Regions from separate parts of the Homo sapiens genome. Here regions 2, 3 and 4 are each linked to region 1. The links are contacts of gene promoters, found by promoter capture Hi-C in human tissues and cell types (Jung and others, 2019). All regions are on one chromosome and are shown on one strand. Each heading gives the region's core, a stretch centred on a gene start or on the middle of the fragment in contact. The rest is flanking DNA. Distances are from core to core; before and after follow the strand shown.

Region 1 (3,486 bases), core at 560-3,059:
GCGGTGAGCCGAGATCACGCCATTGCACTCCAGCCTGGGAAACAAGAGCGAAACTCTGTCTCTAAATAAATAAATGTGTTTACTTCCTACATTTAAAAAAAGGTTTTTTTTGGTAACAAAAGCTACACAAAGAACCCAGAGAACCCACTCAAGAACACCACCACTTACCAGCTCTCTCAGAGCTGACCTTCCAAGCAGAATAGTCCACAGTTCTCTACTGCTCCTGCAAAATGAGAGAACAGAGGTAATTTTGCTCTTTCTGATCATACAAACTTGTACACTGCCTCATAGCCATTTTGTCTGCTCTCTAAAAGCAAAAAATCTCAATATACAAAACGATTTGTTAAATTTTTGGAAAGTAATCTTGTTATATAATAATATTGTTAGGGCCGGGCACGGTGGCTCATGCCTGTAATCCCAGCACTTTGGGAGGTCGAGGCGGGCGGATCATGAGGTCAGAAGATCGAGACCATCCTGGCTAACACAGTGAAACCCTGTCTCTACTGAAAATACAAAAAATTAGCCAGGCGTTGTGGCGGGTGCCTGTATCCCCAGCTACTTGGGAGGCTGAGGCAGGAGAATGGCATGAACCCGGGAGACAGAGCTTGCAGTGAGCCGAGATCGTGCCATTGCACTCCAGCCTGGGCGACAGAGCGAGACTCCGTCTCAAAAAAAAAAAAAAAAAAAAAAAAAAAAAAAAGTGGGGAAAACACTGCTGGCACAGGGAAGGATAAGAGACGGGGATGTTTAACTTTGAGGGAGGGTGGTGGGAAGAACGAAGACCTTCGAGCTGCAATGTGGAAGACAGAAGGAGGCGTGGTGGTCTGGTTATAGCACTGGAGGTACGCAGACTTCAGCTTGAAGGCTCTCTTTATCACTTGGCTAGCTCTGAGCCGGACTTCTGAGTCATCTGTGAAATAGAAGGCGCCTCTCGGAGTTGCGAGAATTGAATGAGATAACTCCTGGGAAGCGCTCCACCAGGGTCTGACGCTAGAAAGCACTTTGTCAGAATTGTAGTTTTCGTATATAATATTTCATCTTCTTGTCCCTAAAGCCTAGTTCAATCCCTGAAATCTCTTGGAGGATTTGGACATGCTGGCTGACTTGATTCAGTGCAAGAAAAGAACGATACGAGGCGCGGAGAGGACAGAAGCCGCAAGCGTGGCTCCGCTCAACGCGAAACAAAATCCTAACAAGAACAGATCGCGGGAGAGGTCGGGGAGCCAGCAGGGCGCACTCGACGCCGGGGCAGGACACTGGGAGCCTGCAGCAGGGACGTGGGTGGGGGGTACCCCAGGAGACCGCAAAGCTCCCCGTGGCTCGAGGGAGCGTCACGGCCGGAGAAGGAAGCGCGGGTGGGGCGCCAAGAGACGCGTCGGAGGTGAGAGAGGAGGAAGGCAAAGGGCCCTGGGTGAGGAGATGGGAGGCCGAGCGCGGAGGGAAGGGGTGAAGAGCCGGCCCCCCTCCTGAAGAAGACTCTTCAGATCCCCGCGCGCGGGGACCGTTTGGACGTAACCGCCTCCCGTCTCGGTGCCCGTCCATCCAGCCGGGGTTGGCCCTGCCACTGTCGCCACATCCCGCCTCCAATTCCCGCCCCGCTTCCGCTCGGCTTTGACACCGCGCTTCACAGCCACCCCGGTCCATTCGACCCGCTCCGCACCTCACACACGGCCCGCCGGCGGCCGCCGCCATCTTCGCGCGCCCGCTCGCCCTAACCCCGCCCCCAGACGCCATGCCCACGTGACCGCTCGCCCCCGGACCCGGAGCGTGGGCGGGGATTTCGTCACGTGACGTTGCCGCGGGGCGGTGCCAAGATGGCGAGGCCCAAAGAGGTGAGGAGCCGGCAGCGGGGGCGGCTGTAACTGTGAGGAAGGCTGCAGAGTGGCGACGTCTACGCCGTAGGTTGGAGGCTGTGGGGGGTGGCCGGGCGCCAGCTCCCAGGCCGCAGAAGTGACCTGCGGTGGAGTTCCCTCCTCGCTGCTGGAGAACGGAGGGAGAAGGTTGCTGGCCGGGTGAAAGTGCCTCCCTCTGCTTGACGGGGCTGAGGGGCCCGAAGTCTAGGGCGTCCGTAGTCGCCCCGGCCTCCGTGAAGCCCCAGGTCTAGAGATATGACCCGAGAGTGCCCATCTCCGGCCCCGGGGCCTGGGGCTCCGCTGAGTGGATCGGTGCTGGCAGAGGCGGCAGTAGTGTTTGCAGTGGTGCTGAGCATCCACGCAACCGTATGGGACCGATACTCGTGGTGCGCCGTGGCCCTCGCAGTGCAGGCCTTCTACGTCCAATACAAGTGGGACCGGCTGCTACAGCAGGGAAGCGCCGTCTTCCAGTTCCGAATGTCCGCAAACAGTGGCCTATTGCCCGCCTCCATGGTCATGCCTTTGCTTGGACTAGTCATGAAGGAGCGGTGCCAGACTGCTGGGAACCCGTTCTTTGAGCGTTTTGGCATTGTGGTGGCAGCCACTGGCATGGCAGTGGCCCTCTTCTCATCAGTGTTGGCGCTCGGCATCACTCGCCCAGTGCCAACCAACACTTGTGTCATCTTGGGCTTGGCTGGAGGTGTTATCATTTATATCATGAAGCACTCGTTGAGCGTGGGGGAGGTGATCGAAGTCCTGGAAGTCCTTCTGATCTTCGTTTATCTCAACATGATCCTGCTGTACCTGCTGCCCCGCTGCTTCACCCCTGGTGAGGCACTGCTGGTATTGGGTGGCATTAGCTTTGTCCTCAACCAGCTCATCAAGCGCTCTCTGACACTGGTGGAAAGTCAGGGGGACCCAGTGGACTTCTTCCTGCTGGTGGTGGTAGTAGGGATGGTACTCATGGGCATTTTCTTCAGCACTCTGTTTGTCTTCATGGACTCAGGCACCTGGGCCTCCTCCATCTTCTTCCACCTCATGACCTGTGTGCTGAGCCTTGGTGTGGTCCTACCCTGGCTGCACCGGCTCATCCGCAGGAATCCCCTGCTCTGGCTTCTTCAGTTTCTCTTCCAGACAGACACCCGCATCTACCTCCTAGCCTATTGGTCTCTGCTGGCCACCTTGGCCTGCCTGGTGGTGCTGTACCAGAATGCCAAGCGGTCATCTTCCGAGTCCAAGAAGCACCAGGCCCCCACCATCGCCCGAAAGTATTTCCACCTCATTGTGGTAGCCACCTACATCCCAGGTATCATCTTTGACCGGCCACTGCTCTATGTAGCCGCCACTGTATGCCTGGCGGTCTTCATCTTCCTGGAGTATGTGCGCTACTTCCGCATCAAGCCTTTGGGTCACACTCTACGGAGCTTCCTGTCCCTTTTTCTGGATGAACGAGACAGTGGACCACTCATTCTGACACACATCTACCTGCTCCTGGGCATGTCTCTTCCCATCTGGCTGATCCCCAGACCCTGCACACAGAAGGGTAGCCTGGGAGGAGCCAGGGCCCTCGTCCCCTATGCCGGTGTCCTGGCTGTGGGTGTGGGTGATACTGTGGCCTCCATCTTCGGTAGCA
Region 2 (3,486 bases), core at 670-3,169, 630 kb after region 1:
GATACCAAGGGACAACTGTAGTATTCTATTTATTTAGAGACAGGGTCTCACTCTGTCACCCAGGCTGGAGGGCAGTGGTGAGATCTCGGCTCACTGAAACCTCTGCCTCCTGAGTTCAAGCAGTCTTCTCACCTAAGCCTCCCGAGTAGCTGGGACTACAGGCACAGGCCACTATGCCTGGCTAATTTTTTTTTTTTTTTTGAGACGGAGTCATGCTCTGTTGCCCAGGCTGGAGTGCAGTGGCACGATCTCGGCTCACTGCAAGCTTCTCCTCCTGGGTTCACGCCATTCTCCTGCCTCAGCCTCCCGAGTAGCTGGGACTACAGGCGCCCGCCACCACGCCCAGCTAATTTTTTGTATTTTTAGTAGAGACGGGGTTTCACCATGTTAGGCAGGATAGTCTCGATCTCCTGACCTCGTGATCCACCCGCCTCGGCCTCCCAAAGTGCTGGGATTACAGGTGTGAGCCACCACGCCCGGCCATGCCTGGCTAATTTTTGTATTTTTTGTAGAGATGGGGTTTTGTCACGTTGCCCATGCTAGTATTGAACTCCTGGGCTCAAGTGATCTGCCTGCCTCGGCGTCTCAAAGTGCTGGGATTATAAGCGTGAGCCCTTGCAACTGGTCTCTTGATTTATTTTGAACCACTGAAAAATGCAAAAACCATTCTTAACTCATAGGCCACAAAAAACAAGCCAGATGCGGTGGCTCATTCATGTAATCCCAGCACTTTGGGAGGCCGAGGCAGGCGGATCACTTGAGGTCAAGAGTTCAAGACCAGCCTGGCCAACATGATGAAACTCCGTCTCTACTAAAAATACAAAAAATTAGCTAGGTATGGAGGCAGGTGCCTGTAATCCTAGCTACTCAGGAGGCTGAGGCATGAGAATCGCTTGAATCTGGGAGGTGGAGGTTGCAGTGAGTTGAGATGGCGCCACTGCACTCCAGCCTGGGTGACAAAGTGAGACTCCATCTCAAAACAAAACAAAACAAAACAAGCAAACACACACACACAAAAAAAAAACAGTCTTCAGTCTTCAGGTTTGACTTGTGGACTGTAGTTTGCTGACCCTTTTTCTATTCTGGGACTCCAGGTGAGAAATGAGACCCTAGGTAGAAGTCCTAAGGTAGGGGTTTTGGGTTTCTGGGAAAGAATAAGTTTATTTATTTATTTATTTGACAGAGTCTTGCTCTGTTGCCCAGGCTGGAGTCTGGAGTGCAGTGGTGTGATCTCAGCTCACTGCAACCTCCATCTCCCAGGTTCAAGCTATTCTCTTGCCTCAGCCTCCCAAGTAGCTGGGATTACAGGTGTGTGCCACCACACCCAGCTAATTTTTGTATTTTTAGTAGAGATGGGGTTTCACCATGTTGGCCAGGCTGGTCTCGAACTCCTGACCTCAGGTGATCCGCCCACCTTGGCCTCCCAAAGTGCTGGGATTACAGGTGTGAGCCACTGCGCCCAGCCGAAAGAGTGATTTTTTTACTGAATAAAGTTGCCCAACAATGGAACTGGTTCTGGTAATGTGTCCCCATCACTAGATGTGATTAAGGCATGTGTCAGGGAATCTAGAGGTTTGACCAGAAACCTCAAAAACCCGTTGGACTTGTGATATTCAATGACTCTATTATATGGTAACAATAAGAAGTATAATGTATTGAGTCGCCACTCTGTACTAGGCATTGTGTTAAGCTTCCCCCAAGTACAATCCTCATTGATATCACCACAGTGCTGTGAGATGGGTCCTATTTTCATTTCACAAGGGAGAAAACTGAGGCTCAGTGTTGACATTTAGTAACATGGCCTGGATTCAATAGGCCCTTAACTACCCTGGACTCTTCCCCTAGATTCCTCTTAATCTGTAGAAGTGTAAACACTTCTGGCTCATTCCTGCATTTATTCTTTCAGTAGTTCTTTCCTGAGCAGCTAGTGAGTTGACACACCCAGGTTCTGCCTTAAGGAGCTCACAGCCTCCATTTTCCTCCAGGGACTCTTCCTCAGTAGAGCTGGGCAGGGAACCCCGCACTCTTGACCTTCAGTGTTACGCCAGTCTTCTTAGAGCCTCTCACTGGGAGACTGATGATAGGCAGAGTAAGAGGCATCTTGGGCTGCCCTTTGGATCCCAGGGCACTGAGGATACAGTTCAGGGTCCCAGATTCCATGACGGGGAAGCCTGAGAGTCTGGCCTGATGCTAGTTTGGGCTCCATGAGGCCCATTCTGAGAACGAGGTCAACATGCAGCCCAAAGCCATCCTGGGGTGGCATTTAGTTGAGAAAATGGACCTTGTTTGTTTCTTTCCAGTATGTGGACCAGCATTCGCCCATCTCAAGGTTGGCGTGGGACATCGGTTGGATGCCCAGGCTTCTGGAGTACTTGGTAGGTGATGTGAGAAGCCTGGGGGTACAGTGATAAGGCTTGAGAAAAGATCCTGAAGCTACCAGGAGCCCAGCCCACTTCTTACCTGGCACCCACGTCCCACCACTCCTCTCCTGCCCTGATTCCTGCCCCAAGGCTGATCAGCTGGGGAGTGGATAGGTGGGACGGAGGTAATCACAGGTTAATACCACAGTCACCCACCTTTATTCAGTGATTCCCACACATGACATAGTTCGAGGCCCTTTATGCACATTTATTTACCACAACAACTTTATTAGGTAGATACTATATGATTTTATGGAAGAAGAAAGTAGGATTTAGGTGACTTGTTCTGGGTCCCATGGCCAGTGAATACCCCTGGTCCGGAGAAGGAAAACCATCATTGCATCATGGGGCAGCCAGGCGCGTGACTCTGGACCTAATGGCCAGGGCCTGCATGTGGCTGGGTCTGGACACACAAAGCCCTAGTCATGAGCCATCTGTGTCCCCAGGGTCAGGTGGTGCCCACATCCTCCAGCCGCGACAGTCACAGTCCCCTTGTCTTGCTTCCTGAGGCACAGGCAGGCAGACATGATCTCATGCCCCCTCTCCCTGTTCTGTCTCCCCACGAGTGAATGCAGAGTTATTCTGTCCCTCAGCCAGAGGGAGAAACAGACCGGGAGAAAGGCAGGAAGTGACCACAGTGGCCACCGTTTATTGGGCCCTTCCTCTGTGCCGACTGCACAGCACCCACAGGAATCAGTATTTTTTTTTTTTCCTGAGACAGAGTCTTGCTCTGTCTCCCAGGCTGGAGTGCAATGGCATGATCTCGGCTCACTGGAACCTCCGCCTCCTGGGTTCAAGCAATTCTCCCTGCCTTAGCCTCCCGAGTAGGTGGGATTACAGGTGCCCGCCACCACGCCTGGCTAATTTTTTTTTTTTTTTTTTGTGAGACGGAGTCTCACTCTTGTTGCCCAAGCTGGAGTGTAGTGTAGCACCACACCTGGTTAATTTTGTATTTTTTGGTAGAGATGGGGTTTCACCATGTTGGCCAAGCTGGTCTCAAACTCCTGACCTCAGGTGATCCACCTGCCTCGGCCTCCCAAAGTTCTGGGATTACAGGCATGAGCCA
Region 3 (3,486 bases), core at 370-2,869, 580 kb after region 1:
TGTTGATAAACAAAGACCATGTCTGACTCATGAGGATGAAAGGCAAGTTGTCTGCAGATAAATCTTCTTTTTTTTTTTTTTGGTAGAGATGAAGTCTCCCCATGTTGCCAAGGCTGGTCTCGAATTCTTGGGCTCAAGCAGTCCTCCTGCCCAAGCCTCCCAAAGTACTAGGATTACAGGCATGAGCCTCCATGCCTGGCCCAGATAAATCTTAACACAGCAGTCTGTGGCTTCTCTCTTTCCAGCTCTGCTGAGGCCTGTCAAGGAAGCAGGGATCCTCCTAGAATCCCAGGCTTTGGGGAGTGTAGCTGGGCCAAGGGTCAGTGAGGCAAAACAGTGAGGAGTCCAGACCAATACAGTTCTAATTGGATCCAAGCAGCCAGACAATATCAATTAAAATGCACTTAGTCATGAGACTTACCCCCCTTCTAAGGGGCAGAAATGCTGAACGCTGTAGGGCACGGACAGACTTCTATTTATCTTTGTATCCTCAGTGTCTGGCTTGCTGCCCGGCACATGGTAGGCACTCAATAAATGGCTGGTGAATGAACTACCCAATTAAGGGAAAACATGAAAGAAATGGGAGGCATCCAATGAGAAGAAAGGCACTGGGCAGAGGTTTTAGATTCCCATCCCAGACTTTTCCTGTCACATAGACCTTGGCTTATCTACACACACACAGGCACACACACACACCTACCTATTCCACACACACACACACACATCCCTACCTATTTCCTCTTTTCCACGTGATACTGTAAAGTACACCACCCATCTTTCAAGGCCTGTTTCTTTGCCTTCTCTCTAAGCTCTGCAGTTTCCCTCAGCTTTGAAACCATATGACAAACCTGTTTGTAGGAAGCACAAATAGTGCCTTGGGTAGACTTCCTCCCTGCTCTGTGTTTCTTCAGTAACTGGTGTGTGTCCCAATCTCTGCATTTTTCATCTTGTGTATACTATACTGTCCCTGTTAGTTCCCTTCAGTGTGATTTCTTATTTGTCCCCGTGTCTCCACCTGACTCCAGTTCTGCAGAAGGCAATCAGCAAGTTTACTGACTGTCCTGAAGGAGGCTCAGGTCTGTTTACCATCCCCAAGTCTTAGGAAAGAAAAAGAAAAAAGTCCCGCCCTGGCCACTACATCCCACGAGAAACAAGACCTTAATAACAGTGTAAAAAGAAACTGCTGCCCAAAGAATGAAATCAGCGGGTGGAGGGTGGTCCTTCTAGGTTCTAGGAGCTCAGATGCCAAACAGATGGGATTGGTCCGAGATAGGAATGGAAAAGAAGAGAGAGAGGCTGCCTGCTAACAGTCACGACCTCCGACTCCGGCGGAGCACAGGGCACCGAGTGGTACACAGAGAGCATTTCCCTCCCAATGTGCGCCTCTATTTCCGGACAGACGGCCTCACTGCCAAGAGAGACTGGCCTCTCAGACTCTCCTAGGCGGGTAGCGTAGCTCACAGCGGGCACTGGGACACCCAGTGATTCGGCCGTGTCAGGCCCCACGGCAGAAGGAAAGGAATTCTGGGCCCGACGACTTCAATCCATCCCCACGGCGCCCCAGCTCTGTGACTCACCCGAACTCCACCTCCACTGACAAGGGCGCAGCCATGTTGAGGAAGCCGAGCTCGCAGGAAACTCCCCTCAACTTCCGGCGCGCCCGCAAATTTCCGGGCGTCTCCGGGTGCCGCGGACGGAAGAGGCGGTGCCCAGGGATCCAGCTTCGTCAGCTGTTGGAGGAAGTCATCGAGGGGAGGGGAGGGGAGGGGAGGGCAGCGGAGGGAAAGGGGTGGCAGAGGGACTATCACCGGCGCTGTTGGGGCTGTGAATCGGTCTCCTTCCGTCTTTCACCGACTGGGCTCAGAGACCCAGGGTGGGAAGCGCCTTGTACGGGACCACAAGCAGGCGGAGGAGAGCCCCCAGGTTTTTTGCGACGTGACCGTGAGCCACGTAGCTGCTTATCTTGCATGAGTTAGAATCTCTTCAGTCTACACACCGCTTGGGCCAGCCCATCTACTCGTCTGGTTGGAATTATAAATGACTCCCAGATCTTTATTTCCGACCCAGAATCTCTCCTGAGCGGGCGACTCGCTATCCAGCCGCCCCCTTTGCTGTCGATTTGGAAGTCACTCGTTCAACAGCTGTTCATTGCGCCTCCCTGTGCCAGGCATTTTGATCGGTGCTAGTGGTAAAGGGGATGGGCAAGGTTCCTGCCTTTAGGGCACTCACAGTCTAGCGGGGAGACTAACTGTAATCAAATAAGCATACTAAGACATGTACAACCTCAAACTTAAATAAAGGAACTGAAGTTATAGGAACTTCAAAAAGAAAACTGAGTAGACTGGACTTGCTGGGCTCTAAAACCTGAGTAAACTAGGTGGCTGTGAGGGGAGAGAAACCTCTAGGAGCATTCCAGTGAGGAGGACAAAAGGCCCAGAGGCTCTGGGTGAGAACATGCTGGAACATGGAGAGGAAGGTGGAAGTTAGGGAGCCTGACTTTCATCCATCTAGAGAGGGAGCTGCAAAGGTGCTCAGGGGCCAACCCCTGCCTTGTAAGCAGGTAAACATTTCAGTCTCTAGGAGCAGTGGGAGACTACTGAAGGGTTTTGGGAGACAGTGACATTTTAGAATTGTGTTTTAAAATATAATTTCTGGCTGCAATATGGAGAATGATTTGAGGGGAATAAGGAAAGAGACACGGAGACCACTGGAGCCTGTTGCAAAAGCTCAGGGCAGGCCGGGCGCGGCGGCTCAGGGCAGGCCGGGCGCGGCGGCTCACGCCTGTCATCCCAGCAATTTGGGAGGCCGAGGCAGGCGGATCACGAGGTCAAGAGATCAAGACCATCCTGGCCAACATGGCAAAACCCTGTCTTTACTAAAAAAATACAAAAATTAGCTGGATGTGGTGGCGTGCGCCTGTAGTCCCAGCTACTCGGGAGGCTGAGGCAGAAGAATCGCTGGAACCCGGGAGGTGGAGGTTGCAGTGAGCTGACATCGAGCCACTGCACTCCAGCCTGGTGACAGAGCAAGACTCTGTCTCAAAAAAAAAAAAAAGCCCAGGGCAGAAATGGAATGAAGTTGGCCAGGCACAGTGGCTTATGCCTGTAATCCTAGCACTTCGAGAGGCCACGATGGGCGGATCACGAGGTCAGGAGTTCAAGACCAGTCTAGCCAACATGGTGAAACCCTGTCTCTACTAAAAATACAAAAATTAGCCAGGCATGGTGGCAGTCTCCTGTAATCCCAACTACTCTGGAGGCAGAGGCAGGAGAATCCCTTGAACCCAGGAAGCAGCAGAGGTTGCAGTGAGCCGAGATCGTGCCACTGGACTCCAGCCTGGGCGACAGAGTGAGACGCTAAAAAAAAGAAATGGAATGAAGTAGACGGCCTATGGGTATCTAAACACCAACACTTCCAAAACTGAACTCAGCATTGGTAGAGGATGATGGTGTAGCCTAGTGGTTAAGGGCAGAATGATGTAATAGT
Region 4 (3,486 bases), core at 891-3,390, 530 kb after region 1:
TTCCCCTCAGATCACCACCTGGGCTCGCCCTCAGGCCTCCAGACCACAGCAGCATAGTCATCGCCCACAGCCGCCAGCCACTCCTGCAGCATCTCTGTGGTGTTGTCCACATTGTGGTCCGTGGCACACCTGGGGACGGGAAGAAAAAAGGCTGAGGGGGCACAGCCACAGGATTGAACCCCAAGGCAGCCTTGACCCCAAAGCACTAACACCTTTGAGGTCGAGCTCTCCTTGGAACAGTGAAGGGTAGGTGTGCTACAGCAGAGAGGCTGGAGGCAGCACAGCCAGGTCCCCACCACAGTTCTGTGACCTGCTGTGTGACCTCAGGCAAGTCCCATCTTTCTCTGGGCTTCACGTCCTCCCTCTATAACTTAAGCTGTCCTGCTTATGTCATGGACAAAGATAAGAGAAGAATAATGCATTTTTTTTGAGATGGAATCTTGCTCTGTCGCCCAGGCTGTAGTGCAGTGGTATGATCTCGACTCACTGCAACCTCCGCCTCCCGGGTTCAAGTGATTCTCCTGCCTCAGCCTCCTGAGTACCTGGGATTACAGGTGTGCACCACCATGCCCGGCTAATTTTTGTTTGTTTAGTAGAGATGGGGTTTCACCATGTTAGCCAGGCTGGTCTTGAACTCCTCACCTCAGGTGATCTGCCCACTTCGGCCTCCCAAAGTGCTGAAATTACAGGCGTGAGCCACCACACCTGGCCAACGAATGCATTTTGAAAGATGAAAAGTACCTCGACTTTAAGGATCACACCTGGTGCATTCCCTGGTTACCTTCGTTAGGTGGGCAGATACCTACCTATGTGACCTGTGGCTGTGTGACCACAGGCCAGCCCCTGTCCCTCTCTGAATGGGGACTAGACAGAAGAGCTGCTGCTTTCCTCCACCCCCAGGTTGTAATAAGGACCAAACCATGCTCTAAGCGTCCCTAAGAATGCAGATGGGTCCAAGCTCTGCTGTCATGGGGCACAGCCTCCCCTCTCCTGGGGAAGGGGCCCCCATAACAGAGGTGGGGGTTTAGCCAAGTGCCCAGGTTTTGGGTGATGCTGCCCCTTTAAGCCAATTCCCCAGAAATGAAGACTACGTGTCAAGTCTTACAGGGGTGGGAACTAACAAACTCCCAAACTGTGGTAATTGTGGGCGGCCTCCCCAGGCCAGGGCTCCACCCCCCCAGCCCAACTGTGGTGTGTTGAAGAGGGTGGCTTGTCATTTTTCTCAGTTTACCCCCAACCTCAGCCAGGGACTCCTCCCTGTTCTGGTGTCTACAGACCAGGGGTTGTGGCCTTCGATCCCAGTGCCCTGGGGGTACAGAGATGCCAGAGGGGAGAGGCTCCAGGAAGGGGGACTGCCCTTGGCTGACAGGATCCCGCCCCTCTACCAAGATCTACCAAGAGAGCTGGCCCCAGCACGGGGGCGGTGGGGGGGCCGGTCTGACTCCCCTGCACAGCCCGGAGCCCAGTGCTGATGGCACCCCCAACCTGTGCCCGGAAGCCTCCAGCGTGGTCGATCCCTGCCACGTTGGGCCCCAGTGGACTTCAGAGGTTCCTGTCTGCTCCTCTTCAAATCCAGCCAACCACAGGTCCCACTGGGGTTGAGCTGGGCCCTGAAGGCTGGGGTGAAAAGGGCTGGCTGGGCCCAACCTACACCCAGGGAAGGCCCCAAGAGGAAGGAGTAGGGGACCAGAAGGAGGGGTGGGTGTCCCGCGTCGGCCTGTGGCCTCAGAGGTCTGTCGTCTCCCAGCAGGGGGCTCGGGGTCCTCTCTGGCGGCTCGGGCTGGCAGGGCCGTCTGTGAGGGGAGGGGCCTGTCTAGGTGGTGTCTGGGCAGGGAGCGAGCAGACAGGGCCGCCGGGGGCGGGGGCCATCTGCGAAGCTGGGGGTTAGGTGCCCACTCGGTGCCAATGCCCGGGTCTCTCACCAGAGGGCCATCCTGGCCCGGGGGTAGTCCAGCCGCTCCAGAGCGCCCAGGTAGTGGGGCAGCGAGTGTTCGGCATTGCGGGCCAGGATGGCAAGGACCACGGCGGGCAGCGGCGACTCCGCAACGCCCGCAGCCTCCAGCCACGGCCCCAGCAGGAGCAGCAGCTGGAGCAGCGGCGCGGCGCGGGCAGCGCGCATGGCGGGCGCTTGGGCGGCTGCAGCGGCCCCCGGAGCTCTCGGGCCGGCCGAGGGGAGGGGGCGGGGCCTGGGGCCCGGGCGGGGCCGAGGCAGACCCGGAGAGGGCGGGGCAGTGCACCCTCAGAGTGGGATCCTGCTCCCCACCCCTGTGCGTGGATGCTCAAGTTTTCTCTCCTTGGCCCGGGGCACCGGAGGGCCAGGGCCCGGGGACCCGCGCCAGCCGCGACCCTGGAGCAGCCCCGCCCGGCTGGACCCCGGAGGGGCGACGGCGGAGGGGCCGGAGGACCGGACAGGGGAGGGGTGCTAGGACGAGTGCGTCGGGGCCGGCCGGGCGTCCGAGAACAGTAGGGGCTCATGGAACCCCTGGGCGTTGAACCCCCGGAATCCGGATTCCCCGGCCCACGCAGCCGACTCTTCGACCTGAGCCGCAGACCCAGAGGGGCGGCGCCCACTCGGCCACCACCTCCCGGGCTTCCCCGGCTCCCGCCCCATCCTCCGCCCCGGGCGCCCTCTGGCGGCCCTGGCGCTAGCTCCGCAGACCAGCCGGGCCACGCGTGGGCCGGAGACCCAGCGTGGGGGGCGCAGAGGGAGTCCCCCTGAGCTGGGCGCGTCCTCCCGCGGCGGTCCGCTCCTTAAGTCCCCTGTGCGTCACCTCCTTGCGTCGGTCGCCAGCACCCGCATTGCTTCGGCCCTTTAAGAGAGCACAGCCAGGCCGGGCGTGGTAGCTCACGCCTGTAATCCCGGCACTTTGGGAGACCGAGGCGGGAGGATCACCTGAGATCAGTTCAAGACCAGCCTGGCCAAGATGGTGAAATCCCATCTGTACTAAAAATACAAAAATTAGCCGGGCGTCGTGGCGGGTGCCTGTACTCCCAGCTACTTGGGAGGCTGAGGCAGGAGAATCGCTTGAACCCGGGAGGCGGAGGTTGCAGTGAGCCGAGATCGCGCCACTGCACTACAGCCTGGATGACAGACCGAGACTCCGTCTCAAAAAGAAAAAAAAAAAAAGAGCACAGCCCTCACAGCCCTCTCTTGGTCTGAGTGTAGAACTAGGGGACACCACGGAGCTGCTCACTGCGACCCGACCCGTCCGTCCTCCAAAGCAGGGGATGTTGGCTCCCCTGGAGCACCGCCGGGGTCCTTAGGACCCTGCTGGGAGGGAAAGAACTCTGCAGCCTCTCGGGAGAGGAGCAGAAAAGGGAGCGGCCTGGCGGCACCACAGATGGGATCGAACTGGGTGTCTGTCACCAACCTCAGACAGGTCCCTTTCCCTCAGGAGCCTCTCGGGTAAAATCGGGCTGATAACGCCACCCATCTGGGAGGGTTTGCAGGGATTCCTCGAGAGAATGAATGCACTGGCAGCTTTT

Evidence for each region. The method cuts DNA at HindIII sites, captures the fragments that hold promoters and counts their contacts. A contact is called where the count stands out against the background at its distance.
Region 2: a contact is called between a fragment that was not itself captured here and the fragment with the promoter of DOLK in region 1, in 1 of the 25 tissues and cell types used here (dorsolateral prefrontal cortex).
Region 3: the fragment with the promoter of URM1 here is called in contact with the fragment with the promoter of DOLK in region 1 in 1 of the 25 tissues and cell types used here (dorsolateral prefrontal cortex).
Region 4: the fragment with the promoter of CERCAM here is called in contact with the fragment with the promoter of DOLK in region 1 in 1 of the 25 tissues and cell types used here (lymphoblastoid cells).

What each region holds. Positions count from the first base shown.
Region 1 is chr9:128,945,926-128,949,411 of GRCh38, reverse strand. DOLK (dolichol kinase) reads left to right here and starts at 1,809. Exons shown (of 1, transcript NM_014908.4): 1 at 1,809-3,486. The coding sequence starts at 2,109. NUP188 (nucleoporin 188) reads right to left here and starts at 1,713. Exons shown (of 44, transcript NM_015354.3): 1 at 1,661-1,713; 2 at 169-223. The coding sequence starts at 1,692. RefSeq lists enhancers at 1,594-1,643, 1,363-1,924, 1,994-2,063, 1,925-2,486, 2,487-3,049. The HindIII fragment of the contact is 11,289 bases long and covers 1-3,486 here.
Region 2 is chr9:128,316,041-128,319,526 of GRCh38, reverse strand. It overlaps TRUB2 (TruB pseudouridine synthase family member 2), which reads left to right. Exons shown (of 8, transcript NM_015679.3): 3 at 2,301-2,375. LOC105376286 (a long non-coding RNA gene) reads right to left here. Exons shown (of 3, transcript XR_930377.3): 3 at 2,628-3,486. Among named protein-coding and RNA genes, the nearest start is that of TRUB2, 4.7 kb to the left of the region's middle. The HindIII fragment of the contact is 1,882 bases long and covers 979-2,860 here.
Region 3 is chr9:128,369,507-128,372,992 of GRCh38, reverse strand. It overlaps URM1 (ubiquitin related modifier 1), which reads right to left and starts at 1,619. Exons shown (of 5, transcript NM_030914.4): 1 at 1,578-1,619. The coding sequence starts at 1,612. RefSeq lists enhancers at 1,421-1,520, 1,584-2,447, 2,448-3,312. The HindIII fragment of the contact is 22,131 bases long and covers 1-3,486 here.
Region 4 is chr9:128,419,511-128,422,996 of GRCh38, reverse strand. It overlaps CERCAM (cerebral endothelial cell adhesion molecule), which reads right to left and starts at 2,140. Exons shown (of 13, transcript NM_016174.5): 1 at 1,923-2,140; 2 at 19-129. The coding sequence starts at 2,119. RefSeq lists an enhancer at 1,405-1,594 and a silencer at 1,855-2,754. The HindIII fragment of the contact is 34,497 bases long and covers 1-3,486 here.